Regions from separate parts of the Homo sapiens genome. Here regions 2 and 3 are each linked to region 1. The links are contacts of gene promoters, found by promoter capture Hi-C in blood cells and fetal thymus (Javierre and others, 2016). All regions are on one chromosome and are shown on one strand. The core of a region is centred on a gene start or on the middle of the fragment in contact, and the rest is flanking DNA. Distances in the headings are between cores, read along the strand shown. Region 1 holds the start of DPH2 (diphthamide biosynthesis 2). Region 2 overlaps ST3GAL3 (ST3 beta-galactoside alpha-2,3-sialyltransferase 3). Region 3 overlaps ST3GAL3 (ST3 beta-galactoside alpha-2,3-sialyltransferase 3).

Region 1 (4,991 bases), core at 1,274-3,773:
CTTCCCTCATCCTCATAGGCGATGGCAATCCCTCGTCTTCCACTCACAGCTTCTGTCACTGGCGTCTGACCCAGGCGGGGCTCCAGCCCTTGCCAGCTCCGGGAACTAAGGAATGAGGCTGTAGAGGGAGGGGGCTCAGTCTGAGTGCGCTGCATCTGGAGAAAAAGCTCAGCTGGGAGTGGAGACTTGTACATTTACCTGCAGGACTGCTCTCAGCCAGCTCCAGCTGGGGCCGTGGGGTCAGAGCCAAGCTTCCATGATCATTTGATGACTTCCAGGCAGGTGGGGGTCGGAGATCTCCAGTAATGAGTGACACGTCTGGGGTTTCCCACAGCTCTGACTCAGGTGGTGGGAGAGCCACGTGGAAGGGAGAGCCTGAAAGGGAGGAGGAAAGAAAATCCATACTCACCCCCTGACTCCGTGCCCCAGGTTTCCAGCTTAGGCAATGCCCCCACTACTCACCAGGCAATAAGTCCGCATAATGTGTGAGGTGGGGAGCCAGGCCTGGAGGTGGCCAGGCAGGGTTGCAGGCAGCTTCCAGCTCACATGGTGCCAGTATAGGCTGGAAGAAGCTACCAGAAAGCTGGGGGGCTAGAGCACCCAGAGGACAGGCTAATAGCACAAAGACATCCACCTCAGGGAAGTTGGCAAGCTTGGCAGGGGTGGGCCGCCCCAGGGCCAACACATAGCTACGCTTGCCAGCAGCCTGAGTCAGGTTCCGCAAGTGGGCCAGTGCCTCACGGTGTTGGGCTACACCCAGTGTGCCTGCCAGCAGCCCTACCACGCGGGCATCTCTGGCCCTCTCTACCAGATATCGTCTTCGTGCCCTTAGCCGTCCAGCCCGGGCACCCTCATCCTGAGTCTTCCCTGTATCTGGACAGCAGGAGGAGAAGGGTTGACCTGGTGCCCACCCCAAGAGCAGCCGACTCAGGTCTGGGTCAAGGTCTGGGTCAGGGCTGGCCTTAGAGCCCCCTACATAGAAGGCACCATACTCTTCTAGACGCCTCCCTGGGGCAAGGGGGAAGCGGCGCCCAAAACGCTCTAGGGGCATAGGCTCTGGACTCAGGGAACCCACTGGTTGGGGAAAAGCTGGGCTGGAGACTAGCAGGTCCAGGTACCGTGGGCGCAGGAGAGTAGCCAAAGCCTCTGGAAGAGAAGGAGGTAGTGTTGAGGTTGGAGCCTGGCAAAGCAGGAGCTCCCTCATCCCCAGGAGACTAAATATGACCCAGTAGGCTGGGGCCAAGCCCATATCAAGAGTTCTATGGATGGTATATGGAAATGGGGAAATTAAGGCATAAAGCAGTTGGCTCACCCTTTGTGCATACACAGGCAAAACCCCTTACCCAGGGCATGGGCACAGGCCGGCTCACTCAGCAGCACCACAGGCGCTTTGGGGTCTGGGTTCTGGGCCTCAAAGGCCTTGACACAGAGCTCCAAGGCCACAGAACGTTGACGAAGCACGAAGGCAACGGGCAGTGGGCGGGCTGGAGGGCTTAAGCAGGCAGGGCCAAAATGTATGAGAGCCTGAGCTCCAGCTTGCTCAGCACCCAGCACATCCACGCAGCAGCTGCAGGGAAGATAGCATCAGAGAAATGGGTTCTCTTCTGGAGGCGAGTTGCTGTCATCACTGGGAAATGTGGTCAGTGAATAAAATGGTTTCATTAAAGGAAGACATTGTCAATGAAAGGAGCTAGCATCAGAAGGGGAGTCATTACCATTATCATCAAGGAGAAACACCACCATTGAAGGCAATCACTGTCATAGACGTAAAACCCCATGAGCCCCGGATCCCCAGGCCTGGCCCACCTAAGGCCAAGTTCACACCTGCCGTAGGCTGTGTCACCCAGAATGAACATCTTTGACCCTGTCGTCTCCTCCAGTCGTGCAGCCACAGCCACAGCATCTCCCAATAGCTGGTCAGGGAACTGCAAGGCAACCTATAAGCATAAACCATGGAGTCAGGGACAGCCTCTCTCCCACTGAGGGCTTCTTTAAAGCAATCTTCCAGGAGCTCCCACTCAACCTTCAAAGCCCCTGGTCCCAGAGGGGCACTCTGCCCCACGTAGTAGGTGGAAGGGAGGGATGGTCAACGCGCTGCGGACAGACTGATTCCCCCACCCTCTCGCCCTCACAAAATCCCCCAAGATCCGGATCCTCTGGGCGACCCATCCCGACAGAGGCGAGCCACCCTTCCCTAAGTCTGTCCTCACTCGTTCACACCCCAGGTCGCGGACAAATCCAGCGACTCGCTCCAGCTCGTACACTCCGTCCAGGTCCGGAAGAGGAGTAAGCAGTCCTGGCACCCCGGTCTCTCGCTGCAGCGCCGCCTCGGCAGGGCTGCTAAACATCGACTCCATGAGGCACAGCTTGGGTGGTGGGATGCAGCGGGGACCTCCCTGGGACAGCTTCGGGGCCTGAGTCCTCTAGAGCAGCCCTCAGGGGGTCAAAATCGCCTTGTGGGGGTAGGGGGAATCACAGTCGGCCTTCAGCCGGTGAGTATCCCCTTCAGCCATCCTAACTACTGTTTCTCCGCTACACGTGGGACTACCGGGGAGGTTACTTCCGGGTTTTAGAGGCGTGGCTGATAGCGATTTTGCCAATCCTAAGTCAGCACAGCTCCCGCCCTCCAATCCCCGCCACCGCCCCGCACAGAGAACCAATGTTCAGCCTGAGTCCCAGGCCAGCCGGAAGTACATCGAGGAAGGCGCGGAGCCTTGTGGGCATTGTAGTTCCCCTGGCCTCCTCTCGGGCGCTGGGAGTCCGGTTCAGCCGACCCGCGGCCATCAGGAACACCGACTTCACTGTTAAGCATTTCACGTGCACTCTATCCTCTGGGCAGTATCACTGCATAATTCTTTCATTCATTCATTTTTTTTTTTTTTTGACAAGGTCTCGCTATGTTGCTTGGACTGGAGTGCAGTGGCGCGATCTCCACAACCTTCACCTCCTGGACTGAAGCCATCCTCCCACCTCTGCCTCTTGAGTAGTTGGGGCTACAGGCGCACCACCACATCCAGCTAATTTTTGTATTTTTTGTAGAGACAGGTTTTTGCCATGTTGCTCAGACTGGTCACAAACTCCTGAACTCAAGCAATCCACTCATCTCGGCCTCCCAAAATGCTGAGAGTACAGACGTGAGCCACCGTGCCCGGCTACACTGCATAATTTTAAACTTGGTGCCGACCGGCTCGGGTTTGAATATTGTGCTTGGTCACTTGCTACTGAGTATCTTAGGAATGTCCCTATGCCCATTTCCTTATCTGAAGAATGGGGAGTTGTGACAATAGTACCTCTTAATAAGATTGTTGTGAGGGTCTAATTAATTTATATACAAAACTTTACAAAGTAGTTCTTTGGATATCGCATGCAGTGAAAGCATTTGCTATTTAATCAGCCAAATACTGAGCACTTACTGTACATTAGGCACTTCATTTTTAGTGTTTACAGTCTTTGGAGTAAGAATTATCCCGAGTGGTACCAAGGACATGACTGGCACATCCTCAAGTCACAGGAGATGCTCTGCACAGCTCCAGCCATCCTCAAACACTGCTGCTTCCCAGCAATACCCCCAGTGCATACCACATAGACCTCTACCCTCCAGCCCCTCACATCCCCTCTACTCCCCATGTTTACTTATATGCAAACACCCCCACATGCAACATCACTTGAAATGCCCTCCTTACATACCTCTGTCAGATACGGAAACTGAGGTTCAAAGAGACTACTTGTGTAATAAGACACTAATTCTGTGGCACAACCAGCATCAAACCCGGATCTATTGAACAGGGAAGGAGTGGGATGAATGTGGGAGTAACGAGTTCCCCATCACCCACAAGGAGATTGAAAGCTCAAGGGTAAAAGTGGGGAGAACTCATTCTGCTCTTCAGATCTTACTGAGGAGAAGCCTGGGGTACCTGAGAGGCAGCCTAGGTGAAACTATAGCTGAGGAGACAGAAAGGGAGGCAACACTGCTAAGGGAGAAAAGCAAGAATAGGTCAGGAGCTGTCCCTGGTGCTGATTGATCCCTGACCATCCTGTGCTGGAGGTCCTGTGTAAGCGGGGAGCAGCGGACATATGGACAACCTTAGGTCCTACTTTCCTCTTTTCTCCTCTGCGGCTGAGATATCTTCTCTCCTTCACCTCCCTGCCACCCACCCACCCCCCAATACACACACACTCAGCCCCTTTCTATAGCCCTCCTCAACCATATGCAAGTTCGATGTTGTATAACTCCACACCAGAAACCCCTCCCGGAAGTCAAAACTCCACTCCATTTCTTCCTTCCTAAACGGACCCAGCCCTACCCCACTTGCAGCCCAAAGTCTCAAGTCCTCTACCTAGAAAGCCTACTATTCCTGTCAAAAACTTTCTCCATGCAGCCTTCCCTCACTTCCTACCATTCTCCATGGTAGCTATGGACTAGATCAACCTTTGTTCAGGGCAGAACGACGCAGGACAGAGCTAGGGGCCTAATATTCGGCGGTGTTGATTAAATAAATGTATGCATACATGCATGTTGGGATTAATTTAATGGGGATGGGGGGGTTGATGACACTACTGCAACCACCCCGCCCCAAGGACAATGACAGTATTCTGAAGGGCTCCAGCCTAGGTGGCTTGGCTACAGTAGTATCTCTTCCAACCTGGGAGCTAGAGGATGTTCCCACCATTCCCTCCCAAGGCCTGGGTCCAAGCATCCTCCCATCCTTCCCCCAGGCCTTCTGGACCCAGGCTTTCAGTTAGGTGGTGGTGACAGCAGAAAGGAGGCAGAGACAGCAGTGAGGGTCCAGGTTTACTCTTTGGGAATAGGGAAGGATGAAGAGAAGGGGTGGATGGGATGGGGGCACCCCTCAGTAGTCAGCTGTGTAATCTGTGCCATGGAGACCCCGGCACAGCAGTGTGAACTCCTTCACCATCTCCTTCACCCGCCTCTTGTTCACTCGCTCGCTGAAGGAGAAAAGGGAGAGCAGGTTAGCACCAGCCACCACCAC
Region 2 (5,007 bases), core at 1,446-3,945, 200 kb after region 1:
GGCTCAGAGATTGAACTTCACCAGACATAATATCCTGGGTACTTGGCAAAGTACCTGGCATGCAGCAGGAATTCAGAAATGTTTGCTAAATTGAATAACTTCTCCCTTCCAAGCAATAAGAAGCAAGGCAAGATTTTATTAGATGCTTTGTTTCTAGAGTTAACAGTCAATCAACAACTATCCAAGTCTCATGTGCATCTGTAGTACTCTCAGCTACTTGGGGAGGCTGAGGCTGAAGGAACGCTTGAGCCCAGGAGTTCAAGACTAATCTGGGCAATATACTGAGACTCCATCTCAAAAAAAAGAAAAAAAACAACAACTGTCCAAGCAATTTTCACCCCTAGTCTTGCCTCCAGGACAGCTTGCTTCTTTTTCTCCTTTAAATGTAGTCTTTGAAATGTCCTATCTTTTTATCATCCTGTTTTTGTCACTAGTCCCATCTCAACAAGTCATAATGAGGTTGACCCTTCCTTCCCTCCTATGTCAGTGCTTTTAAAATCTGTTCTGTTTGTGTTTGTTAATTTACGCACACAGCTAAAAACTTGAGGCCCGTCCACTGGTCTTCTCCCTTCTACTCCTTCCCCTACTCATTCCCCTCTCCTCCCCTCCCCTCTCCTCTCCTCCCCTCCCCTCTCCTCTCCTCCCCTCCCCTCTCCTCTCCTCACTTCTCTCTGTCTCCTCTCTCTTTCATAGTTAGTCTTACAAAGACTTTTACTAGAGAATATTCTGCTTGATTCCTTGAACCATGCTTCCAGGACCCCAGCATATTTCCATTTCAAAAATCTTTTGATTATGTGCTTTCAAGTTACAGTTTAAATTATTTACTCCATGGTTCAAGTTATAGTTTAAATTATTTACTCCCTGGGATGAAAGATTGAAGTTTCAGTCCCATATTGACAATTGAGCTAATCAGTGTAATTCTGTACTCGCTTCTTTATCTATAAAATTAGAAAAAGACCATTTGCCAGACTTTATTCTACTTCAAAGACCTGTTATATGAATAAAAATGAGAGAAAAAATAAAAACAGAACTAGTACATAAAATACAACATCCTTTTATACCTAAAAACAAGCTTGAACTACTATTTTACAATGGGAATGATTTTATGCAAATATATAGTATATTACCTTTTTCTTATGTAGTTTCCCGGATGACTAATTACAGGAGTTCTCAAGATAGCAAAGAGAGTATGTGAATGAAATAAGCTAAAACACTTGAACCATCTAGTCCAGCACCTTCACGGGGTAGGAACTGAATAAATGTTAGGCCCCTTTCCTTTGCTTCTCTTTCCTACCTTCCCTATTACCAGATATTATATTTAGTCAATATGTGTTGAAAAAAAGAAACGAACACAGGAACCCAAGGCATGACAAGGCTTCTTCCCAAATGTCTCCCAAGCCCATGCCCTCCCCTCCCCATCCTGCTACTTCCTCGGTTAAGATTTTCATCATGGGTTTTTCTTGCCTCAGTGCACCAGGCTAGGCATTCAGCTCAATATTAGAAAAAAAGTGGTTTGGGAATGTTCTTGTCTTGTTCCTGATCTTGAAGGGAAAACTTTCAAAATTTCACCCTTAAAATATTTGCTTGAGTTTTACGAACAGATACCCTTTTTCAGATGAAAGCTCTCTGCTAGTCCTAGTCTGCTAAGCAGTTCCAGCATCAACACATGCTGAATTTTATTAAATGCTTGTTCTGTATCTACTGAAATGTTTTTCTTTTTAATCTAATAAAAATCTATTTAACCTATGAATGTGATTAATTACACTGATGAATTTCTCTAACGTTACATCAACCATGTATATTAGGATAAGCCCAACTACTAGATGGTGATCTATTATCTTTTTTATATATTGTGGAATTTGCTAAATGTCTGTTGAGGATTTTTACATTTATATTTTTAGGTAGCTTGGCCTTTAATCTTCCTTTCTTGAGTTTGTCTTTCTTCAGTTTTGGTATCAAGGTTATGCTAGTCTCAAAAAAATGAGTAAGGAGTGTCCCTCTTTTTCAGTTCTCTGGAACTGTTTGAACAAAGCTGGAATTAATTATTCTTTTCAATCTGCTGAAGAAATCTCCAGTGAAGCCCTCTGGGTTTGAAGTTCTCTGGGGAGAAAGATTTTGGATTATTGATTCCATTGGTTTAAAAAGTTTATAGGATTCTAAGGTTTTCCATGATGTCTTGAGTCAGTTTTAGTCGGATATTATTCTAGAAATGGATCTATTTTCACAAAATTCTCAGGACTTTTGGCATAAAATTGTTCATACAGCCTCTTTTTATCTTTTTCAAGCCTATAGCTCCTGTAGTGTGGTCTCCCTTCCTGTTCCTGGCATTGTTCACTGGCACTTGTGCTTCAATTTCTCTCCTCCCTGACCTCCACAATCAGTCTTGCCAGAAGTCTGTCAATTTTAATTTTGAAAAATTTATTTTTTATTTTTAGAGATGGGGTCTTGCTCTGTTGCCCAGACTGGAGTGCAGTAGTGTGATCATATCTGACTGCAGCCTTGAACACCTGGGCTCAAGTGAGTCTCCTGCTTCAGCCACCTGGAGTAGCTAGGACTGCAGGCATGTACCACCACACCCAGCTAATTTTAAAAAAAATTTTTTTGTAGAGACAGGCTCTTGCTGTGTTGTCCAGGCTGGTCTCAAACTCCTGGCCTCAAGTGATCCTCAAATACTGGCCTCTCAAAGTGCTGGGATTATAGGCATGAGCCACTGTGCCCAGCATTTGTCAATTTTATTAATCTTTTTTTAAAAAAACTTGCTCCTTGGAAAAGTATGTTAATCTTTTGAAAGAACAAATTTTTGACTTTGTTGATCCTCTGTATTTTTTTTTCTTTTTCATCAAACTATTATTTTCTGTTTTCCTTCTTTGGGTTTAATGTGCTCTACATTTTCTAACTTCTTGAAATTGATGTTTAGATTACTAATTTTTTTCAACCTTCGGTTATTTTTCTAACATGCATTAAAGTCTACAAACTTCCCTCTATGCTTATAGGTTATAGTAGCATCATACAAGTTTTGACAAGTTTTGATATTTTCTTTTTTTTTTTTTAATTATACTTTAAGTTCTGGGATACATGTGCAGAACGTGCAGGTTTGTTACATGGGTAAACACGTGCCATGGCGGTTTGCTGCACCCATCAACCCATCATCTACATTAGGTATTTCTCCTAATGCTATCCTTCCCCTACCCCCCCACCCAAGTTTTGATATTTTCAGTATCATGCAATTCAAAATATTTTCTACTTCCCATGATTTTTTCTTTGACCCAATGATTATTTACAAATTCATTTCTTAATATTCTAGTTATCTTTTTGTTATTCATTTCTAGCTTAATTTCACTGTGGTCAGAGGATTGATTCTGCATGTGATCAATCCTCTGACACTTGTTGAGACTTGCTTTAGGTATGGTCTGTGGCTTCCCCTTCATTTACCTGATGAAGTCTAAACTGTTCCCTGTTCACTGTGACATATAAAGAAGGACCTTTGTGACCTGACTCATTACCTACCTGCCCAGGGAGTACCATCCCCCAGAGACTCTATATGCCAGCCACATCCATCTTCCCCTGGTTTTCACTCATGCCATGCCTTGCACTCTTGCGCCTCTATCCATAATCTTCCCTCTGCCTTTCTGCTCCTCCTAGCCCTCCCTACTCAGCTCAGATGTTACCTCCACCACAAGGCCTTTCCAAGCATCTGTCCGTCCCTGAAACTCCTCAAGTGGTGAAGTGCTGTGGCTATTGGTATCCCTACCTCTTTTCTTTCTCTCGCAATCTAGCCTCCACACAGCTGCCAAAGTGAGCCTTCTAAAATGCAAATCCGACCACATTTCTCTCTCTCCTTTTCATCAGCTGCTTCCGCCTAACTCAGAATCCAAACTCTGCATTCCACACAAGACTCTCCCAGCCCTTTTCCAGGCCCCTCCACTTTATTCATGCTACTATCACTGCCTAGAATGCACTTCTCATCTTATTCATTCATCTTTCAAGTCCAGGCTTGAGAGTCACTTCCTCTTATTTTGCTGAGGGAATAAAGGAACACAACCTCCCATTTTAAATTCTAGGTGCTCAACAGAAATTCCAGAAGAGACCTCTGTGTTGTTAATTTTCCTTCACACAAAAGTCCAGAACACTACTTTTCCACCAGGTCTTTCCATTAAGGGTAGAAGCCTTTAATGGCCCTGCTGCATTAAATCTAAACTCCACACCTCACCTTAGGGCCTTCTGTCATCGACTCTGCCCTGCTCTGCAATCCTCGGTCTCACTACTCCCCGCCCCCCACCATTCCTCACAAGCCGCTCTCAGCTCTCACTGAAGCTTACAAAATATTTCGAGTACTCTGTCTGCTAGAGCACTTTCCCAGGTCCCCACATGTCCTACCCCAACCGCCAGGTCCCTGCTTCAGTGCCCATCTCTTCCTCAAAGCTTTCCTTGACATCACTTCTTATTTATTTACTTATTTTTTTTTAAATCGCCACTTCTTTGTTGTCTCTGAAACACTTCATCTCATTGTCTTGTCCTTGGTTACTTCCTGTGAGTCTCAGCTTTCAGTCTTTAAAATTCCCAGGCCCAGGCACCTCTCTTCCTAAATGCCCCACACTGCCTGGAATAAAGCTGAGTAAGTAACAAGCTGTCAGTCAGCAGTAATCCTCATAGACTGACAGAAGAAGTCATTGATATCTCTCCCTTGGCCTCTCTTCCTCTGACTTAAGGGCTACTTGGGTGGTATTCATGTGAATCCGGGCAAGGAGCTGTCAGGGCTATTTGAATGACTATTTCCTTGTAATTTCCTCCACTGGATTTTTTATTCCAGCTCTTAGAGGAGAAATAGGAACATGAATAATGGTGCTGGTCTCAGTGAAGAGACCTGTCTCTTCAAGCTTCTTTCTTCAAGCACAGAGAAGCTCATGTGCTTCCCTGCAGCACACATCTATCTCCATTGTTACCATGTGAAAGACATCAATCCTGTTATGGCTGAGGGAAAGAGGAGCTTGTTTTTACAGCTACATG
Region 3 (4,596 bases), core at 1,880-4,379, 230 kb after region 1:
GTATTTGCGTATCAAAACATATCTAGGTCAGGCGCAGTGACTGATGCCTGCAATGCCATCACTTTGGGAGGCTGAGGCAGGTAGATCAATTGAGGTGAGAAGTTCAAGACCAGCCTGGCCAACATGGCGAAGCCCTGTCTCTACTGAAAATAGAAAAATTAGCTGGGTGTGGTGGCATGCACCTGTAGTCCCAGCTACTCGGGAGGCTGAGGCATGAGAATTGCTTCAACCCAGAGGGCGGAGGCTGCAGTAAGCCAAGATCATGCCACTGCACTCTGGCCTGGGCTACAGAGTGAGATTCTGTCTCAATCAATCAATCAAACATATCTAAACATAGAAAAGCTACAGTAAAAATATGATATTATAATCTTACGGAACCACTTTTGCATATGTGGTCTGTCACTGACCAAAATGCTGCTATGCAGTGTATGACTGTTTGTCTCTTTTTGTTGTGTTATTTAAGTAGTTGTTCTAGAGCTAACAATACTCATCCTTAACTTATCAGTCTATTTAGAGTCAGTATAATACCTCTTCAAATCTGACATTTCATATTTATTACTTTACCCTTTCCTTTTCTCACTTTATATAAAACATTCTTGTTTCCCACTTACTTCTTTTTTCACAAATATAACCTTGTACAGTAAAATTACATTTACCCATCCCCCATCCCTTATGCAAGTGTTGACATATCTTTTACCTCTACATATGTCCAAAATCTCACTTTACTGGGTTATTATTTTTGCTTTAAACAATTAGTTGTCTTTTAAGAAAGTTATGAGAAGAAGGAAAGAGAGTCATATTTGCCTACCATTTACCATTTCCAGTGGTCTTCATCTTTCCTGTATAGCCCAGTTGGCCAGGCTGATTTCAAACTCCTGACCTTAAGTCAGCCCTCCCAAAGTGTTGGGATTACAGGCATGAGCCTATTTTTCTTTCTTTCTTTCTTTCTTTTTTCTTTTTTTTCAAACACAGTTTCACTCTGTCACCCAGCCTGGAATGCAGTGGCACGATCTTGGCTCACTGCAACCTCTGTCTCCCGAGTTCAAGCGATTCTCAGGCCTCAGCCTCCCAAGTAGCTGGGATTACAGGCACATGCCATCACGCCAAGCTAATTTTTGTATTATTATTAGTAGAGATGGGGTTTCACGGTCTCAAACTCCTGACCTCAGGTGATCCCGCCTGCCTCAGCCTCCCAAAGTGCTGGTATTACAGGCATAAACCACCACGCCAGGCTATTATATTTTATTTTATTTTTTATTTTATTTTATTTATTTATTTATTTATTTATTTATTTATTTTTTGAGAGGGAGTCTCGCTCTGTCCCCCACGCTGGAGTGCAGTGGTGCAATCTTGGCTCACTGCAAGCTCACTGTTTATTTTTTAAACGAGAAGTTTATTTAAAGAAGATGATGCCGCCAGGTGTGGTGGCTCACGCCTGTAATCCCAGCACTTTGGAAGGCCGAGGCGGGCAGATCACCTGAGGTCAGGAGTTCGAGACCAGCCTGGCCAACATGGTGACATCCCGTCTCTACAAAAATTAGCTGGGCATGATGGCGGGTGCCTGTAATCCCAGCTACTCGGGAGGCTGAGGTAGGAGAATCGCTTGAACCCAGGAGGTGGAGGTCGTAGTGAGCTAAAATCACTCCACTGTACTCCAGCATGGGCGAGAGAGCAAGATTCTGTCTAAAAAAAAAAGAAGATGCTTGATTTGAAGGAAAAACTAGGATTCATTTTTAAGAGTAATTACCCGCCTTAAAGACAGACTTCTCTATATGAAACACCTACATACAAAAAATTGTAAAACTGTCTTTGGTTTTATGATGATAAATAAAAAACATTAAAATTCTCCAATCAAACAAGGTATGCAAGGATTTTTCATGTTGGCTTTTTTGTTGAAATAGTGAGAGGAAATTAAGTTACTGGAATATAAAGATAAGCATGCCACTAATGGAGAAAGAGTATTTTCACAGAACCAGTATCTTTCCCCATCCCATATCCATTTGATGGTAATCAAAACATACCATTGGCCATTTTGTTTTCTTAAAAGTACAATATGCGTGTGTACACACACCACTTACTCTACATGTAATATAGGAATGGGGGGGGGGGGAATGAAAGAATAGAGAATACTATACTGTAGTAGTCAGGATGTGGCAGAACCAAATTGCAGTTTTCTAACTGAGAATGTATTGTTGCTCTGTAAGAATGGAGTTCTGGACTAAAGTAGCAGGTTCCTTTGTAGTAGACACCTGTCTGCTACTGGAACATGGCAATGGTACTTTCATCTTCCACTTCCAGGTGTGCAGGTGTGCCTGTTTCATGGATTGGCCACCTGTCAAATGGGAATCTGATCTGCCTCACTGACAGACCCTCTCATTCACAATAAGCTTTCATTAGTTTACTAAATGGTGTATCCCTCTTAATCTTAAACTGCACCACAGAACCAATCTGCCCCACCACCTTCAAATTAGTATGATCGTTGCTCTTAAGTGTTGACACCTCTCTTGGCATTTCATGGGCCACAGGGAACACCAGAGATATCAGTTGCTGCTTCACTAAAGAGGCACCATGTCCACACCAAATGAGCTCATCAGCAGCACCAGCAGCAGCCTCTCCTTATTTTTAGATTTCAGAAGTCTAACTATGATGTACCTAGGTTTTTTCCCCCAATATTTATCTTTCTTGGGGTTGGCTCTATAAGGGGGCTCTGTTTTGGTTCTGTAAGTCAATGGTTTTCATCAAACTTAGGAAGTTTTCAGCCATTATTTATTTTTTTTTCCTTCAGATGAGTAAGTATGGGAAATTAATTTTCAAAAAATAAAATGTTATTTTTTTTCCTGCCCAATTGTCTTTTTTTTTTTTTTTGAGACGGAGTCTCGCTCTGTCACCAGGCTGCAGTGCAGTGGCGCGATCTCGGCTCACTGCAAGCTCCGCCTCAAGCAATTCTCCTGCCTCAGCCTCCCAAGCAGCTGGGACTACAGGCACGTGCCACCAGGCCCAGCTAAATTTTGTATTTTTAGTAGAGACAGGGTTTCACCATGTTGGCCAGGATGGTCTCGATCTTTCTTTCTGTGGTTCAGACTGGATAATTTCCATTGTGTTCTCTTCAAACTCATGGGCTTCTTCCGTTTTATGTAATCTGCTGTTAAGTGAAACTTCCATTTCAGTTACTACACTTTTCAGGTCTAGAATTTGCATTTGGTTCTTTTTTATAGATTCCATTTCTCTGCTGAGACTACTCATTGTTCACTACTGTATTTTCCTTTAATTATTTAAATATATTCATAATAGTTACTTTGTCTGCTAAGTGCAACACTGAGGCCATCTTATCCATAGATTTTTCTTCTTGAATATGGATATTCTCCTGTTTCTTTGCATGTCTTAGTAACTTTTTTTGAACATTAGCCACTGTGGATATTACACATAAAAACTATGAATACTGTTATCTTCCTATGAAGAGTGTCAATTTGTATTTTAGCAGATGGTTCAATGACTACCTGACGGCCCTGAATTTGTGTGGTCTTGATTTTATGCATCATGAGTGTGGATCTGAGGAAAGCCCATGGCATTTTTGACCTCTCTTGATAAGACCCAAACTTTGAAATCTGTCTTGCTGGGGGTTGGCTTTAGGCCTTGTTAGGGCGGGTCTACGGTAGATCTTACTCTTGGGTAAGATCTTTATTCATAAGGCATGGCCTGTCTGGGGTCTCAGCTGGACGCCAGGGGTGTTAACAAAGTGTTAATGAGATCTTTCTACTGGTAGGGCTGGACCATCAGCGTTCCTGGCATTGCTTTCACCCCAACAGGACTTGACCTCCAGTATCTCTTTTCTATTCATCCTGTACCAGCTGCTGTCTATATGGTAAGCTTCAGGTGGCTTCACCCCATGTATAAATAATAGGCCAGTCCTTAGCTTCAGCCTCACAGGAATGCCCCCACAGACTTCTGAGACCCTCTTGCTGAACAATTCCCTACCCTATGATGGTCCACCCCACAGATTCCAACTGCTTCAGCTGCCCAAACTCTGACCTCTGCCTCTTCAGCTCAGGGGAAATCATCACAGCCTGTTTAGACTCCACTCACAGAACAGGGTTGGGAAACCGTCCTCAGACAGAAAACTGAGCAAATGTGGCGCTCACCTCGAGTTTTCCTTCTCTTAGGAACTGAAATTTTACGCTGCCTGTTGTCTACAGGCTGACACAATTGCTTCATTTCTTTTGTCCAGTTTTATAGCTTCCTATAGAGAGGAGGCTAGTTCTGATACCACTTACTTCCTTACCATGGGAAGCAGAGTACCTCCCTAAGCCAGAGGCCAGAAACATGGCCAGAAATGCCAGCCTCCTCTTCATTTTTAAGACAGAAAACTAAGAGTTAATACAATGTCCTACGTCTATTAAACTCACTTCAACCTGTCCTCCTAATATCAGATCCAACTTCCGCTTTTGTGCCAGAGAGTATTCTCCAGGGCAATCAGATCAACAATGTGTACTTTATAATTTGAATGCATATTTTATAATTTATCTGGTTATAATCTTTTATAAATATGAGGAAGAACACAAAGGGAGCTGTAATAATTGATAAACACAGTAGCATGAA

Evidence for each region. The method cuts DNA at HindIII sites, captures the fragments that hold promoters and counts their contacts. A CHiCAGO score of 5 or more calls a contact.
Region 2: a contact is called between a fragment that was not itself captured here and the fragment with the promoter of DPH2 in region 1, in 4 of 17 cell types (endothelial precursors, monocytes, M2 macrophages and 1 more). The highest score is 7.5, in endothelial precursors.
Region 3: a contact is called between a fragment that was not itself captured here and the fragment with the promoter of DPH2 in region 1, in 1 of 17 cell types (M2 macrophages). The highest score is 5.7, in M2 macrophages.

What each region holds. Positions count from the first base shown.
Region 1 is chr1:43,967,542-43,972,532 of GRCh38, reverse strand. It overlaps DPH2 (diphthamide biosynthesis 2), which reads right to left and starts at 2,523. Exons shown (of 6, transcript NM_001384.5): 1 at 2,211-2,523; 2 at 1,825-1,937; 3 at 1,344-1,567; 4 at 463-1,146; 5 at 199-375; 6 at 1-118. The coding sequence starts at 2,357. IPO13 (importin 13) reads right to left here. Exons shown (of 20, transcript NM_014652.4): 20 at 4,511-4,947. The coding sequence ends at 4,851. RefSeq lists enhancers at 1-850, 636-1,180, 1,181-1,727, 2,213-2,492. The HindIII fragment of the contact is 12,483 bases long and covers 655-4,991 here.
Region 2 is chr1:43,765,868-43,770,874 of GRCh38, reverse strand. All of the region lies in intron 2 of ST3GAL3 (ST3 beta-galactoside alpha-2,3-sialyltransferase 3), which reads right to left. Among named protein-coding and RNA genes, the nearest start is that of ST3GAL3-AS1, 41 kb to the right of the region's middle. RefSeq lists an enhancer at 3,451-3,986. The HindIII fragment of the contact is 3,242 bases long and covers 1,075-4,316 here.
Region 3 is chr1:43,741,358-43,745,953 of GRCh38, reverse strand. All of the region lies in intron 2 of ST3GAL3 (ST3 beta-galactoside alpha-2,3-sialyltransferase 3), which reads right to left. Among named protein-coding and RNA genes, the nearest start is that of ST3GAL3-AS1, 16 kb to the right of the region's middle. The HindIII fragment of the contact is 1,480 bases long and covers 2,390-3,869 here.